Linked DNA regions of Homo sapiens: all the other regions are linked to region 3. Evidence: promoter capture Hi-C in human tissues and cell types (Jung and others, 2019). All regions are on one chromosome and are shown on one strand. The core of a region is centred on a gene start or on the middle of the fragment in contact, and the rest is flanking DNA. Distances in the headings are between cores, read along the strand shown. Region 1 overlaps NR6A1 (nuclear receptor subfamily 6 group A member 1). Region 2 holds the start of MIR181A2 (microRNA 181a-2). Region 3 holds the start of PSMB7 (proteasome 20S subunit beta 7). Region 4 overlaps NR6A1 (nuclear receptor subfamily 6 group A member 1). Region 5 overlaps NR6A1 (nuclear receptor subfamily 6 group A member 1).

Evidence for each region. The method cuts DNA at HindIII sites, captures the fragments that hold promoters and counts their contacts. A contact is called where the count stands out against the background at its distance.
Region 1: a contact is called between a fragment that was not itself captured here and the fragment with the promoter of PSMB7 in region 3, in 1 of the 25 tissues and cell types used here (dorsolateral prefrontal cortex).
Region 2: a contact is called between a fragment that was not itself captured here and the fragment with the promoter of PSMB7 in region 3, in 2 of the 25 tissues and cell types used here (dorsolateral prefrontal cortex and mesenchymal stem cells).
Region 4: a contact is called between a fragment that was not itself captured here and the fragment with the promoter of PSMB7 in region 3, in 4 of the 25 tissues and cell types used here (dorsolateral prefrontal cortex, hippocampus, mesenchymal stem cells and 1 more).
Region 5: a fragment that was not itself captured here is called in contact with the fragment with the promoter of PSMB7 in region 3 in 1 of the 25 tissues and cell types used here (dorsolateral prefrontal cortex).

The regions. Positions count from the first base shown.
Region 1 is chr9:124,712,218-124,714,965 of GRCh38, reverse strand. All of the region lies in intron 2 of NR6A1 (nuclear receptor subfamily 6 group A member 1), which reads left to right. LOC124902269 (a long non-coding RNA gene) reads left to right here. Exons shown (of 2, transcript XR_007061772.1): 2 at 1,131-1,632. Among named protein-coding and RNA genes, the nearest start is that of MIR181B2, 20 kb to the right of the region's middle. The HindIII fragment of the contact is 6,244 bases long and covers 1-2,748 here.
Region 2 is chr9:124,692,177-124,694,876 of GRCh38, reverse strand. All of the region lies in intron 2 of NR6A1 (nuclear receptor subfamily 6 group A member 1), which reads left to right. All of the region lies in intron 1 of MIR181A2HG (MIR181A2 host gene), which reads right to left. MIR181A2 (microRNA 181a-2) reads right to left here and starts at 2,435; the gene lies at 2,326-2,435. MIR181B2 (microRNA 181b-2) reads right to left here and starts at 1,167; the gene lies at 1,079-1,167. The HindIII fragment of the contact is 6,533 bases long and covers 1-2,700 here.
Region 3 is chr9:124,414,162-124,416,861 of GRCh38, reverse strand. It overlaps PSMB7 (proteasome 20S subunit beta 7), which reads left to right and starts at 1,420. Exons shown (of 8, transcript NM_002799.4): 1 at 1,420-1,498; 2 at 1,927-2,020. The coding sequence starts at 1,437. RefSeq lists an enhancer at 1,464-1,513. The HindIII fragment of the contact is 5,075 bases long and covers 1-2,685 here.
Region 4 is chr9:124,730,114-124,732,813 of GRCh38, reverse strand. All of the region lies in intron 2 of NR6A1 (nuclear receptor subfamily 6 group A member 1), which reads left to right. Among named protein-coding and RNA genes, the nearest start is that of MIR181B2, 38 kb to the right of the region's middle. The HindIII fragment of the contact is 7,392 bases long and covers 1-2,700 here.
Region 5 is chr9:124,674,716-124,677,459 of GRCh38, reverse strand. The region is part of intron 2 of NR6A1 (nuclear receptor subfamily 6 group A member 1); the gene reads left to right. The region is part of intron 1 of MIR181A2HG (MIR181A2 host gene); the gene reads right to left. Among named protein-coding and RNA genes, the nearest start is that of MIR181A2, 16 kb to the left of the region's middle. The HindIII fragment of the contact is 3,220 bases long and covers 1-2,744 here.

The sequences.
Region 1 (2,748 bases), core at 235-2,734, 300 kb before region 3:
GGCCTCCGAAAGTGCTGGGATTACAGGCATGAGTCACCGTGCCCAGCCAATGTTGAGTCTTCTAATCTACGAAGTCAGTGTATCTTTCTCCTTATTTAGGTCATCTTTCTTTTTTCTTGTTAGTGTTTTAAAAAGTTTAGTGTTGAGATCTTATACATCTTTATCCTTAAGTATTTTGTTTTTTAATGTTATAGTAAATGATATTATTTTTAAATTTTATTTTCCAATTGTTGCTAGTATATATAAATGCAGTTGATTTTTATGTATTTGTATCTTGTGACATTGTTAAATTTGTTAGTTCTAGTAACTTTAAAAAATAAATTTCTTGGGACTTTTTATGTGTACATCTGTGAATAAAGAGAGTTTACTTCTTCCTTTTTGATGTTTATGACTTATTTATTTTTCTTATTGCACTGGCTAAGATTTCCAGTACAATGATAGATAGAAATGGTGAGAGTGATGTTCTCACCTTGTTCTTAATCTTAGGGGGAAGGAGTTCAATTTCAGTATCAAGTATGATGACACCTCTATTGGGCTTTCTTTTATTTTGTAGAGTTCTGGTAAAATATACATGACGTAGCATTTACCATCTTAACCATATTTAAATGTGCTGGTCAGTGGCATTAAGTACATTCACACTGGTTGTGCAGCTATCACCAGCATCCATCCACATAACTCTTCTCATATTGCAAAACTGAAGCTCTGTACCCATTAACAATAACCATTCTCCCCTGCTCCTGGTAACCACCATTCTACTTTTTGTCTCTATGAATTTGTCTACTCTAGGTACCTCATTTAAGTGGAATCATACAGTTTTGTCCTTTTGTAACTGGCTTATTTCCCTTAGCATAATGTGCCTAAAGTTTATCTATGTTGTATAGTGTTAGAATTTCCTTCATTTTTGAGGCTGAATAAGATTGCATTGTATGTATATACCACATTTTGTTGATCCATTCACCTATTGATGGACACTTGGGTTGCTTTCACCATTTGGTTATTGTGAATAATGCTGCTGTAAACATGAGTATACATGGATGTCTCTCTTCAAGTCCCTACTTTCAATTCTTTGGGGTGTATACCTGGAAGTGGAATTGCTGGACCCTATGGTAATTCTGTTTTTAATTTTTCAGGAATCACCATACTGTTTTCCATAGCTGCCGCCCCACTTTACGTTCTCATCAGCAGTGCTCTAGGGTTCCAATTTCTCCACATCCTCACCAACACTTATTTACTGTGTTTTTGATAGTAGCTCTCCTAATGGTTGTGAGACAATATCTCATTGTGGCTTTGATTTGCATTTCCCTAATGATTAGTGATATTGAGCATCTTTTCATGTGCTTATTGACCATTTGTGTGTCTTCTTTGGAGAAATGTTTATTGAGGTCTTTTGCCTATTTAATTGGATTCTTTATGGGTTTTTGTTTCAGTTATACGAGTTCTTTCTGTGTTCTGTATATTAATCTCTTAACAGATACATGATTTGCAAATATTTTCATCCATTCTGCAGGTTGCTTTTTCATTCTGTTGTGTCCGTCGATGCACAAAAGTTTTACATTTTCATGTTATCGAGCAGTTTTTTCTTTTGTTGCCTATGCTTTTTGTATCATATCCAATAAACCATTGCCAAACCCATTGTCATGAAGCTATCTCCTGTTTTTTTTTTCTAAAAGTTTTATAGTTTAGGGCTTATGTTTAAGTCTTTGATCGATTTTGAGTTAATTTTTGTGTATGGTATAAAGGTAAAGGCCAGCTTCATTTTTTTCTCATGTGGATATTATTTTATCAGTACCATGTGATTATTCTTTCTCCATTGAGTGGTCTTGGTAACCTTGACAAAAATTGTTTGACCATATATATGAGGGTTTAGTACTGGGCTCCCTATTTTATTCCATTGGTCTATGTCTGTCATTATGGTAATACCAGACTGTTTTGATTACTGTAGCTTTGTAGTAAATTTTGAAATCAGGAAGCTGTAGGGTTTTTGTAGATGCCCTTTATCAACTTGAGAAAATGCTGTTGCTAGTTTGCTAAGAGTTTTTTTTATCATGAGTGGTGTTGTTTTCAGATTAATAATTAATTACTAATCTGTAAATCAGTTATGTTTTCATACCAATTCTCCATCTAGATTGTTTAGACTTAATATGGTGAATTACACTGATTGAATTTTGAAACTCAGGCTAGCCTTTTAATGCTGAAATAGACCTCATGTGGTCAGTGATGTATTATAATTTTCCAGTGTTGCTGAATTCAACTTGGTAATATTTTGTTAATGGATTTTTGTGATTATGTGTAGAAGAGCCAAAACCTATGTTTTAATCTTGGTGCCATACTGCCTTCAAAAGACTTTTTTTTTTTTTTGAGACAGGGTCTTGTTCTGTCGCCCAGGCTGGAGTGCAGTGGCGTGATCTTGGCTCACTGCATCCTTCGCCTCCCAGGTTCAGGCGATTCTTGTGCCTTAGCCTCCTGAGTAGCTGGGACTACAGGCGTGTGTCACCTACCTGGCTAATTTTTGTATTTTTAGTAGAGAAGGGGTTTCGCCCTGTTGACCAGTCCGGTCTCCAGCTCCTGGCCTCAAGTGGTCCCCTTGCCTCGGCCTCCCAAAGTGCTGGGATTACAGGTGTGAGCCATTACACCCAGCCTCCAGAAGACTTTTATTTTTCCTTAATTTCTCATTTTGGGCATATTCCCTTTTATTTGTTGAATCTGCATTAGTTTAATTTTTCGTGTAGTCATAAACCAACTAATAGG
Region 2 (2,700 bases), core at 200-2,699, 280 kb before region 3:
TGGCTTTGATTTCTCTTTCTGGTTCTTGTCTCATTACCCCATCACTTCTCCTTCCTAATTTGACAGGAAAGCCTTGTCAAATTAAGGCTTGCTTAATTGTCAAGGCTAATTTGACAAGACTCTTCTCTTACTGTCTTATTTGACTTTTGCTATGAGAATCTGCTTCTTCTTAGACTTAAGTGTATGATAAATTATTCATGACCAAGGGCCTTGTTTTTCTTTCTTTAACATGGGATTTAGTGGCTTATCTCATGTTACAGGATTTAGAGAGTTGATACTACATTTAAATTTTTTGTTAAGAAAAATGTACATCTTCTATCTCACTTAGGTGTTTTTCCTGTTTGAGGGACATGGTTTGCAAAGGTTAGAATGAATGAGCCTCATAGTTTTTGTCAAAAGAGAATATTGATGTACATCTGAATAATAACCAGAACATTCATATTAAGTCATACTATATAGCCATTTAAAAGAATGACGAGTACATAAAAGACTGTTGTGGAAGTCTATGATATATAGCTGAATAACAAAATAGATTATAGAACAATAGGTAAAAATGAGCTTATTTTTGTCTAAGCCACTCTCCCCCCAAAACATGCAAAATTACAGCTATTTATCTGTGTATGTATGGATAAAGGTCTTCAAGGATATAAAATAAATTCTAGTTATGATATTTATTATCTTAATAAGTTTATTATAATTATACATGTTTTCCTCCGAGGAAATGGATTGCAGATGATGATTGAAGGGATTTTCAATTTTTACTTTGTATATTTTTGTATTTGAATTTCTAAATAATAAGCATATGATTCTGTTTAGAAATTCTGAATGTACTGATTTTTAAAATGTGATGTGATATCCAGATATGTATTTAATTCTTCCTATAAAATATCATTTCCTTAAATCTAGACTATTGAAAAAGGAGAAAAGTACTAGGAATTTAGAGAACTTACTCCATGTTAGAACCAAGGAGAACAAGAAAAGCTTTAGCTAGTGTTTTGGAAATAGTAGCAGCTCCCACTCACAGCAGTAGCTGCTGCACTCAGGCGACTCTCTGCACATGCTTTTGCTTCCTTTGGGTTGTTTGGTCCGCAGTTTGCATTCATTGATCAGTGAGTTGATTCAGACTCAAACCCACCGACAGCAATGAATGTTGAGTGCAGCCATCAGTGTTTTCAGTTGGTGGGGTTGCCTTTGCCCTCCCTGGCTGACTCCTGGCTCTTCTTTTCCATCTCAGTTCTTTGAAGTCTGTGTGTCTGGCTTCTCCCTTAGTAACCAGCCATCTGCATGATTGAGGGCCCACACAGGTGTCCATAACATTGACATTGGAGCTGGGAGGTTATTGCAGATGAGGAAGCTGTGGTTCAGAGAAGGAAGGAGTGCTTGGAGAACCTCACAGGTAGCACTGCGCCACACAGGCAGTGCTTGCATATTAGTACCTGTAAACCACAGCTGAGGGACCTGCTTTTCCTCTTTGTTTTGAACTGAGAAGTATGAGTGCTTTTTTGAGGTAAATTAGCAGATTATGTTGGAGTTTAATAATAACAGCTTACATATATTGAGCATTTGCTGTGGGCTAGTAATGGTACAAAGCACCTTATATATTATCTCATTGAGTCTCAAAACTCCATGATAGGTACTCTTAGCCTCTGTTTTATATGTGAGAAAACTGAGACACTTGCTTAGGGGGTCAAATAACTAGTTAAGGGCTTGAGCCAAGATTCATCCCAGATCTGACTGACTCCAGGGCTAAGTTTTTGCTTGAATTTAGCAAACATTTAAATAAGCATATGTGGGGATATGTGGGCACTAGTAAGGCAATAGCTCATGCTCTAACTGGGATATCAAAAATTAACCATATTAACTATAATTCAAAGTGAAATGTGATAAGAACTGTCACAATTGGATAATTTTGTGCTATTTTTGCTTATTAAATCCTCCCCTTGCCCCTAATTAAAAATTTTGAGAGGATGTGGGAGAAATGGGAGTAATTATTTAACTGGATTTTATTCCAAAACAAAATACGTATTTTTAATAAATTTTTACTTGCTACGTCCTGTTTCTCACCAGAATGGTGCATATCTAGGAGACATGTAGGTACATTAGATATCATCATGGACTGCTCCTTACCTTGTTGAAATGAAACACTTTTTTTGTAAAAACAAACAAATAATAATAAAACACACAACAGAAAGCAAGGAACAGTGAGCAGTAGGAATAAAATTCACTGGACCACATTTGGGGGATTGCAGGACCATTTCTGGTGAACTCATGTGACATGTGAAGGTACAGCTTGCTCTTTTGCTTCAGGAAATGTAGTGTCGTCTGTAAGGACCCCAAGGTACAGTCAACGGTCAGTGGTTTTTTCAAATCCCAAACTCACCGACAGCGTTGAATGTTCCTTGGAGTCCTCTGAAGGCTGGCCTGATAGCCCTTCTTCATTCTCCCATCCACATCCCAAGAACCAGTGAGCAGTGAGACCACCGCTGATGGATGCTCTTACATTCCTCTCTGGGTTTCAAGTCGAGAGTATTTAAATTATAAAATCAATTTGTGTGCAGCAGAGAACTAATGAACTGTGGGATAGACTGTGCAGTAATTTGTACAAGCAGACTCAAATGAATGTCTGAGAAAATGTCTTTGAATGGTATTATTTTGTGATTCTAAAAATGTAAAATACCTGATTTTGCAGTAGTATTTTAA
Region 3 (2,700 bases), core at 171-2,670:
CTGCAACTTCTGCCTCCCTGGTTCGAGCTATTCTCCTGCCTCGGCCTCCTGACTAGCTGGGACTACAGGTGCCCACCACCACGTCTGGCTAAGTTTTTGTATTTTTAGTAAAGACGGAGTTTCACCGTGTTAGCCAGGATGGTCTCAATCTCCTGACCTCATGATCCGCCCACCTCGGCCTCCCAAAGTGCTGGGATTACAGGCGTGAGACACCGCGCCCAGCCAATGAGACCCCTTTTGACGCAGGGCAGGTAAGCCCCAAAGTGCGGCTGAGCCCACAAGGGTTCTTGGCTTTGCCCAAGAAAGAATTCAAGGGCAAGTTAGAGGCAGAAGAAAACGGCTTTATTGAAGTGGCGGCGTTACAGCTCCATGACTGCTCCTGCAGAGCAGGGTTACCCTCTTAGGCAGAGTGTCAGGGCAGTTTTGCTGTCATATTTATACACACTTTTAATTACATGCAGATTAAGGGGTGGTTTATGCAGGCATTTCTAGGGAAGGGGTAGTAACTTTTGGTTTATGGTGCCACTGCCATGGAAAGGGGCGGTAACTCACGAGTGTTGCCATGGCAACGGTAAACTGACTTGGCTGGCTGGTGAGCGAGTCTTAGGGAAGACAGCTTCCGTCCAGGCCCTGTTTTAGCTAGTCCTCAATTTGGTCAGGTATCTCAGCCCCATCTCTGAATGGAGGCCTGCCTTCTACCTCACCTTTGTAGAAGTTTTTGTGAATACATGTCTTCAACCCTCTCGGGTGCGTATCTAAGAGGATAATACTTTTTGGGGAACTGCCAAATTGTTTTCCGGAGCAGCCGCACCGTTTTGCATTCTCACCAGCCGTGTATTCGGGTTCCAATTTCTCCACACTCTCGCAACCCTTGCGCTTTTCTGTCTTTTTGTTTATGGCCATCCTAGCGGGTGCGAAGTGGGATCTCACTGTGGTCGTGCTTTGCATTCACCCTATGACTAATCATGTTGAGCCTCTTTTCACAGACTTAATGGCCATTCTACAGCAGCCTTTTGAGCTAGGTTGTAATCTCCATCTGATAGCGGAGGAAACAGATTCAGAGAGTTGAAGAGACTTGCTTAACGCAAGGGGGTGGTGGGGCTGTGCCTGGGACTTGGGTCTGTCTGTCTCTGAAGCACCGCAGAACCAAATTAACGGTAGAAACAAGTCCAGTCTGAGCGGCAGGAGACCTGGTCGCTGGTGCGTTCACCTTGGACAAGTCCTTTCCCGGTTCCGGGTGTCACTTTCTCCTCCGTGCCACTTGGGGCGATATACTTCAAACATCTCTGGCCTCTCTAGGAACCAGAATCTCTAAGATCAATCGTTCTAGTGCGGCGTTTGCCCCGCCCCTTCAGCCCCCGTTGCCAGCGACGCCGGAAGTGCTCGGCTCTTTTTGTTTGCACCCGCCTCCGACCCGGAACTGCTTTCTTGGGAAGATGGCGGCTGTGTCGGTGTATGCTCCACCAGTTGGAGGCTTCTCTTTTGATAACTGCCGCAGGTGCCGCCTTGCTTGGGGCTTGGTTCAGGGAGGGAGAAGAGTGCGGTGCTCGGGTGGGAGCTGGGCCAAGGTGTGATACGAGAATTCTGAGGGAAGAATTCATGGCGGGGCCTGTGGCCCGCGGCTAGTGTGACTCAGGGGAATCAGGGCCTGGGCGTGGGTTTCTCCTGAAGCCGGGTCTGCTCTCCCACCTTCCCAGCGCACTCGGCCACCGTTTATCTCCGTCTCCTAAGGCACGTCACGGCCCCTTTGTAAGACTGTCTTCGTTGGAAAACGGGAGAACAGTGCTGATGGTGGGAGGATTCATTAAACAGATGGGCGTGAAAACAAGTAGCAGCTTTCCTGAGTTCTCTGTTAGGCACTTTTCATGCCAGTGCTGTGCGATGTGGTCCTGCCCTTCAACACTTGATTCTCTCATTTGCTCTTAGGAATGCCGTCTTGGAAGCCGATTTTGCAAAGAGGGGATACAAGCTTCCAAAGGTCCGGAAAACTGGCACGACCATCGCTGGGGTGGTCTATAAGGTAAGCCGGGTTAGGCTAAGAGCAGCAGTGACTGAACCGGCAACAGGAATCAGAACACTTGGCTTCCGGTGTCTCTCCCGGCTCGGTCTGGAAAGGCAAATGCTATAGAATACATCAGGAGACCGTCTTTCAGGAGCGACTGCTTTTGTCAGGTTTTGTGTGCTTCTTAACAGTTTATGTTCTTTCCTCACTTTGCTGAGGTTTTTTCTTTCTTTCTTTTTTTTTTTTTTAAACAGGTCAGTTAGCTTCTTAATTACTAGTTTAGGAAGCTGAAGTATGTGATGGGAGATCACGAGATTTGGGGTCAGACAGGTCTGTCTCACCTTTGAACTCTATAGTGCTGATTCCAACTTCTGGCAGCTCACTTTCCTTCTCACAGGGACACCTTCAGATGCATCAAATGGAGATAACTCCTGCCTTAAATTGTTGGAAACGTCAAAAGGGATAATGATTACCTGTGCAACATGTTTTAAAGAAAAGCAACATGTTTTAAAAGGAAATTGATAGTGATGGCTAATTTAATGGAAAGATTCCTGAGTCTTAATCCAGGTTTTTTCCAGATTAGCTCTGATTTACAAGGAATTTACCCGACACCTGAGCCTCACTTGAAAATGGGAATAATTCTTACCTACTCAGGATTCAATTAGTAGCATTTACTAAGAAACCTTTTCTTAAATCCT
Region 4 (2,700 bases), core at 11-2,510, 320 kb before region 3:
GAGGCTGAAGAATCGCTTGAACCCGGGAAGTAGAGGTTGCAGTGAGCCAAGAACATGCCATTGCACTCCAGCCTGGGTGACAAGAGCAAAACTCCACCTCAAAAAAAAAAAAAAAATTCGTACTTGCATTTATGCACATGGACAACTGTATACTCACAAACACTTCTAAAGTATTGATAGTTTTGAAATAATTTCTTTAAAAGAAGCATTTTGCTTAGTTTAGAAATTATAATTGATAACCTTTGTAGTACAGTTTAATTTTCATTTACGGTCTTATGGTTAAGATATGAGAGTTACCATTTCAAGGTCTAATTAAATGATGCTTTTCAGGACTATGTGAGTCTTCATCATAGATAATCATTTGCATTTCCAGTTCTTCCTAAATGTGGTGGCGTGCACCATTCTGGGACACATAGTCATAATGGTTAGAAATAGGACATGGGAGTATCCAGTGTATACAGACCTTATTTTGCTATAATGCCGAAAGGTCAAATGATAATTTAGATTGAGATTCCATGAGATGGTCTAGAGTTATTTTTCTGATTGTAGTACTTTGTTACGGCTGGCTCTTTGCCACCAGTCTGCTGTTGAGATCAGTGATAAAGCTTACCTTTCCATCATCGTGAAGCTGATTCAAGCTCTGAGGTGGTGGACCTTCTCACATATTCGCCTCTGCCCTCCTTATTAGTATAAATGTCCATGTTGCAACTAATACTTATTAATTTTTAGGCAAAATAGTTCTCATGATGCTTATCAAACACCAGGGAAATATATTTGTCTTTTTAAAAGTTGTAAATTTCAGAATCAGTTTTGTATTAGATAGTATAGCCCCAGTATACCAGCAGCTATAGGTGTATATAGTACGGTTGACCCTTAAACAATGTGGGGGTTAGGGATGACAACCCCCTGCACAGTTGAAAGTCCACTTATAACTTTTGACTCCTCAAAAACTTTATTAATAACTTACTGTTGACTAGAAGCCTGGCCGATAACATAATCAGTAGATTAACATAATTTTGTATGTTATATGTATTATATTCTATATTGTTACAATAAAGTACACTAGAGAAGAGAACATGTTGTTAAGAAAGTCATAAGGAAGACAAAATATATTTACTCTTCATTAATAGAAGTGAATCATCGTTAAGGTCTTCATCCTCACCACCTTCATGCTGAAGGAGGAGAAAGAGGGGTTGGTCTTGCTCTTGAGTGGCAGAGGTGAAAGAGGTAGAGGAGGTGAAAGGGGAGGCAGGAGAGGCAGGCACACCTGGTATAACTTTTATTGAAAAAAGTCTGCGTAGAAGTGGACCTGTGTAGTTGAAACGTGTTATTCGAGGTCCAGCTGTGTTTTCTGTTCTCTTATGAGTAGCCTTTGCTTAGGGGAGGAAAAGATAAATTCAGTTATTTTTCTGGAGTCATGGTCCTTTCTTTTTTTTTTTTTTTCGAGATGGAGTTTCGCTCTGTCACCCAGGCTGGAGTGCAGTGGCACGATGTCAGCTCACTGCAACCTCTGACTCCCGGGTTCAAGTGATTCTTCTGCATCAGCCTCCGGAGTAGCTGGGACTACAGGCGTGCGCAACCATGGCTGGCTAATTTTTGTATTTTTAGTAGAGACGGGGTTTCACCATATTGGTCAGGTTTGTCTCAAACTCCTGACCTTGTGATCCGCCTGCCTTGGCCTCCCAAAGTGCTAGGATTACAGGCGTGAACCACTGCACCTGGCCATGGTCCTTTCTTAGAAGCATTTTTGAACACTAGGAAGGACATTGAGATGCCCTGTAACCTTTCAGACAACTACACATAAAACATGCTAGATAGTTGATAACTCAGTTTGTTAAGCACTGAGTGTTCTCTCTGCTCCACACCCAGTTCTCTAGACTCTAGGGATACACAGATAAATAAGTATAGCTCTTGTTCTTGTATGTTATCAGTGTGTTAGGAAATATTTGAAAGGACATTTTATAAACCTCTAGTTTAGCATTTAGTACCCAAATGTATTCTCTTTTTCTGCACCTAGTAGCAATTGAAAATGGTTAATGCCCATTTTCTGAGAAAGGTCCTTGATATTCTCAGAAAAATTATTGTTGAATTCTTCTTTCTGGGTTAAGTAATACCAGCTCATTAAACATTTCTTCATAAAATTCCTAGCTAGATATGGCAATTTATAGACCTCTCTATTCCATGAGAATGAACAGACATTGAGACATAATTTTATACATCAGTATAGAATAGGAGTCACCAAAAAAAAAAAAAAAAAAGACTAAAAAATTGTACTTACTGGCAGGGCATGATGGCTCATGCCTGTAATTCCAGCACTTTGGGAGGCCAAAGCGGGAGGATCATTTGAGCCCAGGATCAGGAGTTTGAGACCAGCCTGGGCAACATAGGGAGCCCCGTCTCTGCAAAGAAAATTTAAAAATTATCCAGGTGTGGTGGCATGTGCTTGTGGTCCCACCTACTTGAGAAGGTGAGGTGGGAGGATTGCTTAAGGAGGAGGAGGCTGCAGTTGAGCCATGATCACACCACTGCATTCCAGCCTAGGTGACACAGAGCAAGACCCTGTCTCAAAAACAAACCAAAAAATTTGTACTTAGCGTATGTGGGTAATATTCTCAGTAATTTCTATATTGGGAAGTTAGTAGTAGTTTAATCTTTCTCTTTGAAGAAATACATAAGGATCTGATTATTCTAGAAATAATT
Region 5 (2,744 bases), core at 242-2,741, 260 kb before region 3:
TGATGAAACCCCGTCTCTACAAAAAAATACAAAAATTAGCTAGTATGGTGGTGCCCACCTGTAGTCCCAGCTACTTGTGGGGCTGAGGCAGGAGGATCACTTGAACATGAGAGGTTGAGGCTGCAGTGAGCTGAGATCAAGCCACTACACTCCAACCTGCGTGACAAAGTGAGACTCTGTCTCCAGAAGAAAGGAAATAGTAATAATAATTTGGAAGTAAAGCTTGGTAGTTACTATACTATTTTGACCATATATGAAAATTTGAAATATTTCATGATAGGAAACATAATCCTATCACTCTAAACATGTCAAATTATATATCTAGTTTATGAGCACTAAGGCCTTTTTTTTTCTTCTTTAACCTGTTATTTTTGAGATTTGGAATTTTTATGTTTTTCTTGGATGCCACTGGAGGGAAATAGAGAATGAAGTCTTGTTTGTGTGGTATCAGTTGTTGAAAGGGACAAACGCAGTTTTGATCTTGAAACTAGCTTATGTGTAAATTCTTTTCAGTCTTGAATATGAGTGAAGTAAAGGTAACCACTTAGCTCTGTTAAGTATATGATTGCTCTAGTCACGAATTTTAAAGGTTCTATCGTTCATAAGTTTGTCTAGTACTTACTGAGGACTTGCCATATATCTGATATTGTGAGAAGAACTGTCCCAAACGGTGACATTACTATTTCATTTTGCATTTGAGGTTACTGAGGATCTGGATACTTAAACTTCCAATGTCAGAATATAAACAAGAAAGTAATCATCACTCTATAAACTGATTCTTTATTGCCACAAATGGATTATCACTACTTTAGGAGAGATCCTGTTTTTGAAGTCTACTGTTTTAGAAGTCTTTTTAGAGCTTGTACTAAGTGGCCTTTAAAAATCTCATAATAATTTCTAACACTTTCTTAATAACTTGGCAGTATGGCTTTGTCATTTAAAACAAAATCTGGAGGAAAGGAAAATATTTATTTCCCTGTGGCATGAAAAGAGGCTATATGTAGGTCATTTTTTTTTTTAAATAAAAGGCAAGAAAGTCTCCCTCCAGACCACATCAGAACTATGCCAGCTTGGTACGGGGCCCTTACCAGAGTAATGATGTAAGAATCTGAGAGTACATAGTGCAGCTGCCAAAGCTCATAATGTTTAATTTCAGCACTGTCTGTTTGCCAGAGTTTGCAGCTCAATATTTTTTTCTGTATGGATCAAATTATAATCACATATATTTATCTTATTGGGGTAGGAGAAGTAAAGAGTTATTGTTTGATAAATTTGCCGTTTTCCTAGGGAATGGTGCTGTTTTGCCTGTCACATGCTTCTGAGCATTATTCCCCCACTGATTCCTAAGAACTTATTCTCCTGGGTGAATTCTTCTAACTTGTGACACAGAGGGGCAATTCACACCTTGCCTGTTTATATTTTGCAAGAAAACCCTTCTCTTAGCGTGGGTATCTATTCAGGCAGTTCCATGTGCTACATTCCATCCATTTGCCAAGTCTTGGACTCTTATCCAAAGTACAATATTTGAGTATACAATTACACCTACACGTACCGGCAAGAGCGTACTTTTTCCTAGCCTCTCTTGGAGAACGCTTGAAGCCAGAGGAGCAAATCCAGATGTTCTGGATTGAGTTTGGCACCTTCAATTGAGAATTCTAGATGGAAAGATTTCATTTGGAAGTGTACCAGGCTTGCCCAGCAGTTGCTTCCTGTTGCTAACCATCATATTTTTATGACCAAAGATTCTAGACTGCCTCCTTTGTTGAGCAGAAAGAATTACACACTAGGGCCACATGGGAAGTGGCTTCTCATCATTTGAGAGAAATATCAGCAGGCATGCAGAAGAGGGTAGCCTTGCTATTGGGAATAAATCTGGGTTGAGAGCAGGTACAACTACAGCTGCAGCTCTTTAGCCAGACCTGGCTTTATTTAAATTTCAAACAGAAATCTTTGACATCAACCTAAGTGAACCATTATTGGCTGTCTGCCACCTAACAGTACCTTGTACAAGGAGGAGGTGCTCTCTGACTGTATTCAGTCAACACTTATTGAACACCTTCTGTGTGTGCCAGGCAATGTGCTAGATGCTGGTGATGAATAAAGTATTTTTTCGAGAAGTTACAGTCTGGTAGGAGGCACAGACTCTTAGACAGATAAATTACAATTCACTGATTTTATTTGTTGCTTATACAATTTAGTATTTTGTTTGCTTTGTAAGTCAGCAACATAAGCCAGTCCACAGGATTAACTCCATAACTTTCTAAGTAAGAACAAGCATAGGATTTCCTTTCAGTTCTAAAGAATGTTTACTTGCTTGCATTTTTGCGTCTTTAGATACCTCTTCTGACTTGCCCAGGGATGAAGTTTGTGGAGTATGGGAAGAAAAGACTAGTATAAGGCAGGAAGGCATTTCTAAGAAAGCTTCCAGAATTGATTATTTTGTCCTAAGAGATGTTTTCTTCACTTAAAAATTATGTGAGAACGCACAAAGGTTAGCTGTGTTGGTTATCAGTTTGTTGTAAGGTAAGAGCAAGAAAAATCATTTTCCTCTATCTCTCTGGAATGTAGGACTCCTTTATCTGAGTGATTACATGGTTAAGGCGGAGCTAGAAAATACATTTCCTTCATACCTGTTTCTGGATGGATGAGGTCACATTTACTTAGTAGTTATATAGTTCCTGTGTTGTAATTTGCTATTCCTTCAGCCTTTTTTCCTCCCATTTTTGAAGATGGGTATATGAATA